Linked DNA regions of Homo sapiens: region 1 is linked to region 2. Evidence: promoter capture Hi-C in human tissues and cell types (Jung and others, 2019). All regions are on one chromosome and are shown on one strand. Each heading gives the region's core, a stretch centred on a gene start or on the middle of the fragment in contact. The rest is flanking DNA. Distances are from core to core; before and after follow the strand shown.

What was found. The method cuts DNA at HindIII sites, captures the fragments that hold promoters and counts their contacts. A contact is called where the count stands out against the background at its distance.
Region 1: a contact is called between a fragment that was not itself captured here and the fragment with the promoter of CALCOCO1 in region 2, in 1 of the 25 tissues and cell types used here (hippocampus).

Annotation. Positions count from the first base shown.
Region 1 is chr12:54,324,413-54,330,209 of GRCh38, forward strand. It overlaps COPZ1 (coat protein complex I subunit zeta 1), which reads left to right and starts at 719. Exons shown (of 9, transcript NM_016057.3): 1 at 719-769. The coding sequence starts at 752. RefSeq lists enhancers at 4,779-5,469, 5,470-5,797. The HindIII fragment of the contact is 4,502 bases long and covers 732-5,233 here.
Region 2 is chr12:53,722,879-53,728,777 of GRCh38, forward strand. It overlaps CALCOCO1 (calcium binding and coiled-coil domain 1), which reads right to left and starts at 4,574. Exons shown (of 15, transcript NM_020898.3): 1 at 4,526-4,574; 2 at 2,209-2,388; 3 at 1,767-1,869; 4 at 715-905. The coding sequence starts at 2,364. LOC105369774 (a long non-coding RNA gene) reads left to right here and starts at 3,701. Exons shown (of 3, transcript XR_944973.3): 1 at 3,701-3,771. RefSeq lists enhancers at 2,150-3,349, 4,667-4,726. The HindIII fragment of the contact is 5,999 bases long and covers 1,355-5,899 here.

The sequences.
Region 1 (5,797 bases), core at 1,733-4,232, 600 kb after region 2:
TATTCTAATCCCATCCCTTTCCCCGTTTGTCCCGCAAACCCCATCTCCAAAGCCGATTTCACGTTGAGCTCAAGTTGGCCTTTACAAACTGACTTCTCATGTTCCTCAGGCCCAGCAAAGCCTGGAACTCCACCTTAGGGAGATTGTTATTGCGACTATCAACTCCTGGCAGCCTTGGTTTATGTAGTTAACATGTTGGGCCTTTCTTGGCTCTACTCTATGGTTGTGCAGACTTTCTGTGAGGATGCTGAAGTGACCTGAGCGAGCATGAGGGAAGGGCTAGCCACAGAGATCATGGACCTAATGCGGGCGCTGAAAATAGGGATTAGGGCAGGATTCCGGTTAGAAAGCGCCAGTGTTAAAGGCTAAGGAGACACAGCGCCCCCTAAAGAGGGTGCGGTTTAAAAATCGCTAAATCAGTCCGACAATATCACGTGTCCTCGGCCCTACCAATTGAAAATTAACAATCGCTTCTTCTGTTCCCCATGGAAACAACCCCGCCCCACTAACCCTCCCGCCCCAATGAGTCGTGAGGTTTTGGCGTTTTATTGAGTATTCAAGCTGACAATCAAACACCTGAGCCTTCTGGTTGGACACTTTGCTTCCGGTAAGCAAGCTAGTACAATAATTGGCCAATAAAGCAAGCCTTACCCAATGATCCTTATCCTAGGCGGGGCCTAATGGGAACGTATGGCCAATCAGCGGCGGCGTTTCTTTTGCGGCTCCACGTCGGCACCAGCTGCGGGGCAAGATGGAGGCGCTGATTTTGGTAGGAGCTGGAGGGGCAGCAGAGATGCTGTGGTGTCCACAGGGGCCGGGAGTCAGGGTTCAGCCCGAGTGGGAGACGGGGAAAGAGAGTTCCGGGTAATTCTTGGGGACTGAGCGTTCTGCTGACCTTTGGAATAAGTGTGTGGCCTAGTGTAGGAGCTAAAGCCTTGGTTTAGAGTAGGAAGCCCTGCCGGGGAGAGGGCATAGAGTCGGTGGAAAGTTGAAGGCAGCACATGGACTCCTTAGGATACACAGACCTGTAGGCGTACTGGATTAGGACCCTTCAGGTTGCCCCTTATTTTTAGCATTGTGGATGATACCCTGATTTTAATTTACCAAACCACCAAACTCGCCCCATATTGTAAGAAAAGAATACAGATGTTTTGTCGTTACAGACTCCTCCTGATGGTTTCCCAAGTTTGACTCTCCATTGCCGATTCCCTGCCACATTCCTTCAGGAAACTGTTTTGTCTTCGGTTTCCTGTTAATCCCTATTATATAGGTTTGTCAAATAATCAGTATTCCATCAAAGTTCTGGGATACCTGATAAAGTTAGCATGGATTGTGGAATATTTTTTCTAGACTCCTTATTCTGTTCTCCTTTTCTCTACCCATTTAGACCTTAGGAATTCTTTTTTTTTTTTTTTTTTTTTGAGACCGAGCCTTGCTCTGTCACCCAGGCTGGAGTGCGCACGTGGCGCGATCTTGGCTCACTGCAATCTCCACCTCCCGGGTTCAAGCTATTCTCTTGCCTCAGCCTCCCGCGTAGTTGGGACTATAGGCGCGTGCCACCACGCCCGGCTATTTTTTTTGTATTTTTAGTAGAGACGTGGTTTCACCATGTTGGCCAGGCTGGTTTCGAACTCCTGACCTCAAGTGATCCGCCCGCCTCGGCCTCCCAAAGTGCTAGGATTACAGGCTTGAACCACCGCGCCTGGCCAGGAATTATTATTATTATTATTATTATTATTATTTTTGAGACGGAGTCTCACTCTGTCGCCCAGGCTGGAGTGCAGTGGTACGATCTCGGCTCACTGCAAGCTCCGCCTCCCGGGTTCACGCCATTCTTCTGCCTCAGCCTCCGGAGTGGCTGGGACTACAGGCGCTCGCCACCACTCCCGGCTAATTTTTTGTATTTTTTAGTAGAGACGGAGTTTCACCGTGTTAGCCAGGATGGTCTCGATCTCCTGACCTCGTAATCCACCCGCCTCGGCCTCCCAAAGTGCTGGGATTACAGGCGTGAGCCACTGCGCCGGGCCAGGAATTCTTATTGTATGATCTAGGATGCTAATTTCTCCCTCTCTGGTTACATGAGAATTGTGGTCGCTAAAGGGCTGTATTAGCCCTCTTGTCCATATGATGCTTTATGCTTGTTCTAACAAATAAAATACCTGTTACCCCTTTTTAGAACTGGACCAGAGAATTTCTCTCAAAAGTGCCCTATTTTGCGATTTGGAGGGGTGTGTGTGTGTGTGTGTGTGTGTGTGTGTGTGTGTGTGTAGGTAGGTAGGTAGTATAGTGTAGGAATTTAACTCCCAGCCTTCTTCCTTAATTGGCTTGAACTCTAGGCCTCTTTCCAAAGAAGCTTGTCTTTTATTTTCCTTCAGATCTCCTAAGCATACACATTCAGATCCTCATCAGATAAAAGAATAACAGGTTTTAATTCCTCTCTTTCAGTTAAAGACAGTTAATTCCTTATGTCGGTTGGTCAAATATAGGTAAAAAGCTTAAAATCTGAGTAGTTTTAAATATTTTCTGTACCAAGCAGTTAACAAGTATTCTTTTTTTTTTTTTTTTTTTTTTTTTTTTTTTTTTTTTGAGATAGAGTCTGGCTGTGTTGCCCAGGCTGGGGTGCAGTGGTGCAATCTTGGCTCACTGCAACCTCCGCCTCCCAGAATCAAGCAATTCTCATGCCTCAGCTTCCTGAGTAGCTGGGGTTACAGGCACGCGCCACCATGCCCAGCTAATTTTTGTATTTTTAGTAGAAACAGGGTTTCTCCATGTTTGCCAGGCTGGTCTAGTCTTGAACTCCTGACCTCAAGTGATCTGCCTGCCTTGGCCTCCCAAAGTGCTGGGATTACAGGTGTGAGTCACTGCACCCCGGCCAGTTAGCAAGTTTTTTTTTTTTTTTTTGGAAACAGAGTCTCGCTGTGTCACCCAGGCTGGAGTGCAGTGGTGTGATCTCACCTCACTGCAACCTCTGCCTCCTGGGTTGAAGCAATTTCTCCTGCCTCAGCCTCACGAGTAGCTGGGACTACAGGCACGTGCTGCCACACCTGGCTAACTTTTTTGTATTTTAGTAGAGACGGTTTCACTGTGTTGCCCAGGCTGGTCTTGAACTCTTGAGCTCAGGCAATCCACCTGCCTCAGCCTCCCAAAGTGCTAGGATTATAGGAGTGAGCCACCGTGCCCGGCAGCAAGTATTCTTAATCAAGAGGTTGAGTGCAGTGGCTCATGCCTGTAATCCCAGCACTGTAAGAGGCTGAGGCAGGAGGATCGCTTGAGCCTGGGAGTTTGAGGCTGCAGTGAGCTATGATTGTGCCACTGCACTCCAGCATGGGTGACAAAGCCAGACCCTGTCTCTAAAAAAATAAGAATAAAAAACCTCCCCCTAAACCCAATTAGCAGACTAGGATAGATTCTAGGGAATTGGTTTTTTTGGAAGTTTTTAGACTTACCTATATATGTTTAGAAGGGAGCCTGCTTAAAGGTAAAGGAATGAGGAAGATAATAATTGGGGAGCCCTTTTAACAATGGGCCTGTGTGTAGTGGGTAAGCTGGGGGAGTTATATGTGAAAGTATCTCTGTCGGGCGCAGTGCAGTGGCTCATGCCTGTAATCCTAGCACTTTGGGAGGCTGAGGTGGGCGGATCACTTGAGGTCAGGAGTTCGAAACCAGCCTGGCCAACATGGTGAAACCATGTCTCTACTAAAAATACAAAAAAAAATAGCTGGGCGTGGTGGCACGAGCCTATAGTCCCAACTACTCAGGAGGCTGAGGCAGGAGAATCACTTGAGCCAGGGAGGCAGAGGTTGCAGTGAGCCGAGATCGCGCCACTGCACTCCAGCCCAGGCGACAGTGTTAGACTCCATCTCAAAAAAAAAAAAAAGGCCGGGCACGGTGGCTCACGCCTGTAAATCCAGCACTTTGGGAGGCCGAGGTGGGCGGATCACGAGGTCAGGAGTTGGAGACCAGCCTGACCAACATGGTGAAACCCGGTCTCTGCTAAAAATACAAAACTTAGCTGGGCGTGGCCACGCCTGTAATCCCAGCTACTCAGGAAGCTGAGGCAAGAGAATCACTTGAACCTGGGAGGCAGAGGTCGCGGTGAGCCGAGATGCGCCACTGCACTCCAGCCTGGGTGACAGAGCAAGGCTCTGTCTCAGAAAAGTTAAAGAAAAAGAAAGTCTCTCTGTCACATTTCTCTTCCCTTAGTTCTCTGTCTCTGCTTCTTCAGTGAAGTCTGTTTCAGCCTGCTTCTTCCTTATTCTTTTGCTTTAATCTATGCCTAATAGGCTGCATTCACAGATCCCTGCTAACTTGATCAGGTAACCCTGGACTTTGCTTTTAAAACCACACTGGTTCTTTGTTATGGGAAACCTATGTAATGCGGTTAGGGACAATCTGATCAAAGCATATTCTTCTGTCCTTAACTCTACAAGGTACATACATAGCTGCAGGATGTCGAGAAAAAGGGACAGGTAAGCTACAGGGGGTCAAGAAGAACTGTTGATCAAAGTTTGCATTGATTGTGGAATTTCTAAATAACAGTAAGTTCCCTTCTTTTAGGTACTTTACAGTGGGTCACATGGTCACATTTCTTTCTTGAATTAAGTAATCCAGCTCTAGCTTTCAAGCAGATTTGTCTAATCTCTCTCAGGTCTCCTTAGGCTCTAAGGAAAGAGACCCTTTCATCTCTTTTAGTTCCCAATGCTTAATAATAGTGATCTCAGCCTGCATCTTTGGACTTGGCTTCTTCTCTCTTGCTGTATCTGCTGGTTCTCGCTTTTTGAGTTGTGAATGAAGAGGATCTCTGCAGATCACCATTCTCCATTAATAACCTGTGGAATCTTAAAGATAAGGATTTCCCCTTCCTCCTTCCTGCTTTACTTTTTTTCTTTAAAGCTGAATTACTCGGGCCGGGCTCGGTGGCTCACACCTGTAATCCTGAGGTGAGTGGATCACCTGAGGTCAGGAGTTCAAGACCAGCCTGACCAACATGGTGAAACCCGTCTCTGCTAAAAATACAAAAATTAGCTGGGCGTGGTGGCATGCGCTTGTAATCCCCAGCTACACGGGAGACTGAGGCAGGAGAATCGCTTGAACCTGGGAGGCGGAGGTTGCAGTGAGCCGAGGGCCATTGCACTCCAGCCTGGGCAAAAAGTGAAACTCTGTCTTAAAAAACAAACAAAACTGAATTCTGTATCGGTTTAGATCTTTAAATCTTTGTTCATAGGTTTTATTTTTCCTAATCCTCTCTGGATTCACTTTCAGAGTGCTTCTCCAGTGCTTTACAGACTAGACTTCTAATTCTGTACTTTGTCTTACCTTAATATTTTAAAACCATAACCAAATCCTAAATTCTAAGCCTCATTAAAAAATCAGGCCATCCAAAGTGCACAAGGATATGAGTATGTATGGAGGAGGAAACTATGCAGAATATGTCAATGACTTTAAAGGTTGATGTTGCTCCTTGGCCTTTGCTTCCTGAATCATCTTAATGGGGCTTTTGTTAAATTCCTTTGGCCCTAACAGTAGAGGTACTTGGCCTAAATGCCCCCCTCCCCCTGCTCTGGGCAAAGGTATCAATTACATTAAGCCCCTAAAGCACTCCCATCTCGTTCCTGGCAGTCCCCTGTGCCCCTCTCCCAGCTGCGTCCTTGCTGGTGCCTGGCCCCCTCCATTTTGTTAGGAGAAGCAATCTCCTCATTCCTGCGCTGTGGAGATATATTTCTCAGCTAGGGCGCGAGCAGTGCCAGCACTGCCCCCGGTGAGGTCCCTGGCAGCAATAAAAATTTTTATTGTGATT
Region 2 (5,899 bases), core at 3,324-5,823:
GCTCACACATCTTTCACTTACGTGAGATATAAACATCTTCCTGGGTGACAGAGCAAGGCTGTCTCAAAAAAAAAAAAAAAAAAGAAAAGAAAAGAAAAGAAAAACCCAAAAAACAAACAAAAAAACCCCAAACAGTATCATTTCAACATGTAGTCAAAATAAAAATTATTGAAGTCTTTTACATTCTCTTTAAAAAATACTAAGTCTTCAAAATCTGGAGTATATTTTACCCTTATAGTACATCTCAGTTTGGATTAATTGCATTTGAAGTGCTCAAGAGCCATATATAGTTAAGAGCCTTTGGTATTGGACAGTACAGGTCTGGGGCCTTGCCTATCTGCTCTCACTCCCCACTCGTCCTAGAAGCAGGTCCTGTGCTCCCCTTTCTCTGAATGTTCCCTGGAGTAGCCTCTCTCCACCCTTTGATCTTCCTCTAGGGCATAGGGCAGGATGCAGTGCATGGAGAAGGAAGGCTGCAAAAGTTCTTATGAAATCCTGAGTTACACTGGCCTGTGGGTGGTCTCCTTTCCTGCCTTACATGTTCGTGTATGTCTATGTTAGACTGAGACTCTCCTGGAGGCAGGACTTTGTCTAACTTTCAACGAGGTCTTTAGTTGGCGCCACAGATGAGGGGAGGGTAAGGTGGGAAGGGTCCTCTTGCAATGCTGTCTCCCACTCCCTTGTCTGGGAATAACTCTGTTGCTCTTTTCTCACCTGTAACACAGTTGCCTTGGGGACAACCAGCAGGATGTCAGAGCCCCCATCAGCCTCCTCCAGGGTCACCAGTTCATCCATGGGCCTTGGCTCTCGGAACTGGAAAGGGGGGCTCTGCCCACACACCTGGCCCTGGCGGTTCACATATCGGAACTGGTAGAGCTGAGCTCCTGGTTTGGGCAGGTAGCTGGCTGTGGGAAGAAGAATGGACCCAGGACCCCAATAATCCACTGTCCTTGGCCCCAGCCCCTTGCTCGGTGTTCCATATACTGTTTCTTCTCTTCTCCACCTCCCACAGGCCATACTCTTCTCCCTCCTTTCTGCCTGTCCCTCTCCTTCCTTTCTTTCCCAAACCCACTGCCCCTCTATCATAATCATAATAATGCTAGTTACCATGTAGTGAGTGCGTACCATGTACCAGACACTGTGGTAACACTTTTTATTTTATTTTATCTTGAGACAGAGTCTTGCTCCATCGCCCAGGCTGGAGTGCAGTGGCGCGATCTTGGCTTGTTGCAACCTCTGCCTCCCGGGTTCAAGAGATTCTCCTGCCTCAGCCTTGTGAGTAGCTGGGACTACAGGCATGCACCACCACGCCTGGCCTGCAGCTTTCATTTTAAATCCTCGTAATGTCCCTATAAGCCAGGCATCCCCTTTTACTGTTAAGATAACCGACACAGGGAGGTTATGTAATTTGCCCAAGGCCAAACAGCTTGTAAGTGTTAGAGGTGAGATTTGAACCCAGGTCTTTCCCTCTTCTCACCACATAATTCTACCTTTCCCTCTTCCTTACTCCCCCATTTTTCCTTCTTTGGGTAGGACAGGGGACTAGATGCCCTCTGAAGTTCCTTCTGTTTCTATGTCCCTGATTCTGCGATAATCCCGTGATTCTCTATCCGCTGAGCGCTGTTGGATATATTCTCATTATATTTATTTTCGTTTATTTTTCCTTGTCCTTTGTGCCTAACTTTTAATGTTTCTGAGCCCACTACCTTCTTTCAAACCTCCACTCCCTTGGCTCCTCTCTCCCAATTTTCCATCTTCCCTTGTACCTTGGAACTGGACACTGGTGTGAATGGGGGAACCATCAGTTGTACTTTCAGGCACGGAAGACCACACAAATGTGTGGTAATCCCGAACACAGGCAGCCTCCACCTGTGAAAGCCCAAGGTTGGAGAAAGGTATGGTCATGGAACTACCTTCTATGGATGGAAGAAAGGGCTGAGGGGTTGAATAAGGGGGGCAGGATGGAGCTACAGTGGCAACAATGACAAGAGAAAGGGAAAGTGGAGGGACACTAATGTGTCAGTAAAGAACAAGGCTAAGATGGAGAAAATATGTGCTTTGGTTATACAGGCGGCCTCTGTCATCTGTGACATCTTTCTCTCTTCTTCTCTATCAACCTGAGGTTGAGAATCCAAGAGCCCAATCATTCCCCTTATTCCAACCAACTCACAGCCCATAAACCTAAGCCAAAAGGGGTTCCAGAGATACCTTGAAGATGCCAATCCAGTCACTGGCACTGGGCATGGTGCCTGGGGGAAGGGTGTAGTGACATTCCACCTTGGTGTTGGGGATGTAGGTCCGGGCTACATTGAGAAAGTTGACTCCACCACGGGATGGTGCCCGGCTTAGTGGTGATTCTTCCATCCTGGCCTTGAGATATCTGTCCTCCTATGAAAGAAAGGGTTGATAGCCTAAAGTCTTTCCAGTCCACCTCCTTCCCCCCACAGCTCCAGCACCACACACTCACAGCCCCTGCCACTACACCTGGAGATAAGGCATACCTGGTTTCTAGTCCCTGAGGGTTACGGGACATTTTTGAGGTATCACTCTTAGTCTCTAGGACGTAGGTCTGGCCTTCCAAGTCCGTCCCCATCCTGTCTCACACTGTACCCGCTCTGGCTCATAGACCCTTCTGAGGGTTCAGACTTCTCTAATTTTGCTCCCAAAAGGACACTGACGGGGACAGAGCCTGGGATACTGCGACTTGGTCGACAGCCTCCATTTCTCCATCCCATCTCCCACACATCCTGGCTCTTGAATACAAAATCCAACTGAGGTGTGGGGCCCTCTCATTGAGAGAGGTGTCCTTACCTACTCCTAAGCTTGTTGACCCAGCTGTATCCAGGAATGAGTTATGACATCAGAAAGCAGCAACTAATCTCTGAAAGGAATGGTTGAGTTTTCAGAGCTAGAATATGGCTGGGGGTCGAGGGGAACTGAGCCCAAATCCTTAGGCTCCTGAGCTCTCAGCTCTTTTCATCTCTCTGAGCTGCCTACCCCCATGAATTCTAGGGAAGCAGAAAGCTTCTGCTGGCATCCAAGAGACAAAGGGAAGGGGAGGATATAAGGAAAGACAGGTTCTGTCCCTTGACTTATTATTCCAGGAAGTCAAGAATTCTGGAGGCGGCAACTTCAAGGGTGGAGTGAGGCGCTTAGCAGGAACGTGGTGGGGGTGGGGAGATGGAATGTGGGGGCCTGGAGCCAGGAAAGCCCCACCCCAGGGCAGGGAACAGACTAGAAAGTGGGAAGTAAGGGGCCCCAAGAAGTGGAAATGTATATTTAACGTTGAGGAAAGGGGAGATAGTTCAAAAAGAACCTAACATTCTTCTCTCCAGACTGTGCCTGCAGCAGGACTAGAAACCTACTGGTTTCACTTTAGTATTTCTCTCCTCATTTTCTCTCTGCTCCCCTCAGCCTCCATCCTTCCATCTGTTTGTATTGGTAGCTGGAGACACACTACAGGATGGGGTTGAGAGGAAGGGGTGTTCCAAGTTAGCTGGGGAGAGTTAATTGGAAAATATGAGGGTGGGGTGAGGACAGATAACAATAATAACGATCAAAAGAACTCCTCAGTCCAGGGCTGTGAGATGGCCCTCTTATTCATCACTCCTTTCCAGCCCACTAATCTATTTCCTGTGTCACTCACAGCTGACATGTCCAACCAGCCATTGTCACTAGTCATATGCACGCCCCCAAACATCACAAACCCACACCAGGCTGAAGTCCAGGGGACAGGAACTTTAAAAGAAAACAGAAACTCAGTGGATAAAGGTGAGCCAGCAACACAAAAAGGAGCAACTTCTGTCCCCCAAATAGGTAGAACAAAAAGTTTTTTTTAATGTTCATCTCCCTGAAAAATTCCTGGTTGAAACTAATCCATGTTTTCTCCAAATGCAATTCTTCCAGCTTTCTAAGGGTGGGGGTAAATTGTCCCCAAAGATATACCTGGAGAACCCTAAAATACACCCCACAAAGAAAATCCGTAACAGCTGTAAACGTTCTTCATGTCCGAAAGAAAGTTTTGGGCACCTAAGATGTAGGTGTGTAGCCTGATTCAGATGTTCACATGATGGGGCGGAGAGCGGGTGTCCCATCCCCTACTCTGTAGGGCTCTAGAGTTCCTTGACATTCTACACCTTGGAAGGTCCCCCTTCCTCCCCAGGGATTCAGCGTCGTAAAGGCCTTTGGATTTGCGTAGGGGAGAGAGGGAAGACGTGTAGGGGACACGTCTTGCCTGGGAGCGAATAAGCAGATTTCAGCTCCCTTGAAGGGATCAGCTTTATAGAGACGCATTGAGAAGAAGGAGAGGACGACGAGGGGGCGCCCCCCACCCCCAATCAGAGTCCCCTTGAAACCAAGAACTCCCCAAACAGCGGGGGTGGCTTCTCCAGTACGGAAAGGGTTACAACCCAAACGCTCCTGTATTCCCCTTCGACAGTTCCCTTACGTTATCCTTCCCCAAACTGGAAAGTGGGGTGACCCTCCCCTCCCATAAGATCGCCCCCAATTAGGCCAAGTTTCTTACCCAACAGACGGATCAGCTGTTCCCCTCACCTTTCACCAACAACAAAAACAGCACTCCGACTTCTGGAGGGGAGGGAGAAGAGTGGGCGCGAGGGCTTCTGGGGTTTGTGGTTCTTCTGCGCCCTTTTGCCGCTGCGTGCTCGGATCTAGGACTATACATCCCAGAAGGCTGCGCGCAAGGAGGGCGGGGAAGAGGGCGTCCGTGACGGCGGCCTCACCGCGGCATCCTGGGAGGCGTAGTTCTCACTCCTATGACAGAAAACGAGGGTGTGGCCAGCAAAGGACTTCAAGGCCCATGATCCCTTAGGAGGGGGCCGGCTGCATTAGGGGTGGCTGCTGGTTTGTAACGTGCGTTGTTGGGGGCTGGGGAGGATTTACGGCTCTAAAGCCTTCCATATAACGCTTTAACGGTGGGCAGAGCGGTTTCTGTTGCGTCCCGTCCTGTACTTTTCGCACCCACCTGTGAGATAGGCGTTAAGCGTTATGCACGCTTTATAGATGTAGAAAGTGAAGTACGGTTAAGGAGGCGGTGTGAAGTGTCAAAGCTATGAAATGTAGAACTGCATTAGCCTTGGCTAATTCCACGTCATATATTCTTGCCACTACACCACAGCTACCCACCATTTTGGGGATGGGAAACTGATAGCTGGGGTATAGCAGTTTCTTCTTTACTTCAATCTCAGGGACAGACCTTGTAAGAATGATGTCTTCTGCACAGCTGACCATTTTTTTCCAACTTGAGGATTTCAGTGCTAAGGGGCCTGACCATATCCACATCTGGACTGGGCTCCCCCAGAGTGGCTTCTGGGTCTAGGAAGAGGATACAATTGACTGAGGTGGTGGTAGGAGCGGTGGAATGAGAAGAATGAAATTGAAAAGGGAGCTTGGCATAATTCAGGACCTGTCACAATTCACAAACAAGCCACTTATGGGGCCTGTTTGCCCAAGCCTTTTAAGTGGCTTAAATTAATTAGGATAACAATACATGTTGACGTTCCGGTTTTTATTTAGGAGAGGTGAAAGATTGACACGTCTCCCACACCCCAAGTCACGTTATAGACTTGGGCATCCTGTCCCCCCTCTCGCTATTCTCCATCCCTGTAGTCGGAGGCATTCAGAATTACCTCTTTCTCTGGCTCTGCATTAAAGGATTACAGTCTTAAGGATTGATTTCCTCTTCCTAGGTGCCTGCTTTAATTCTCTACTGCACTAAGTTATGGAGCTTCTGCCTTTTCCAAGTTTTTTGGTAGTGTTTTGCTTTTATGACTGAATGCGGTGTCTGCCCTCAGTGTCTTTCATCTGAAGATCTCCAGGCACTTAAAAATTAGTTACTGGGCTGCACAAACATTAAGGTGATGTGTCTGTGTCATTAGTC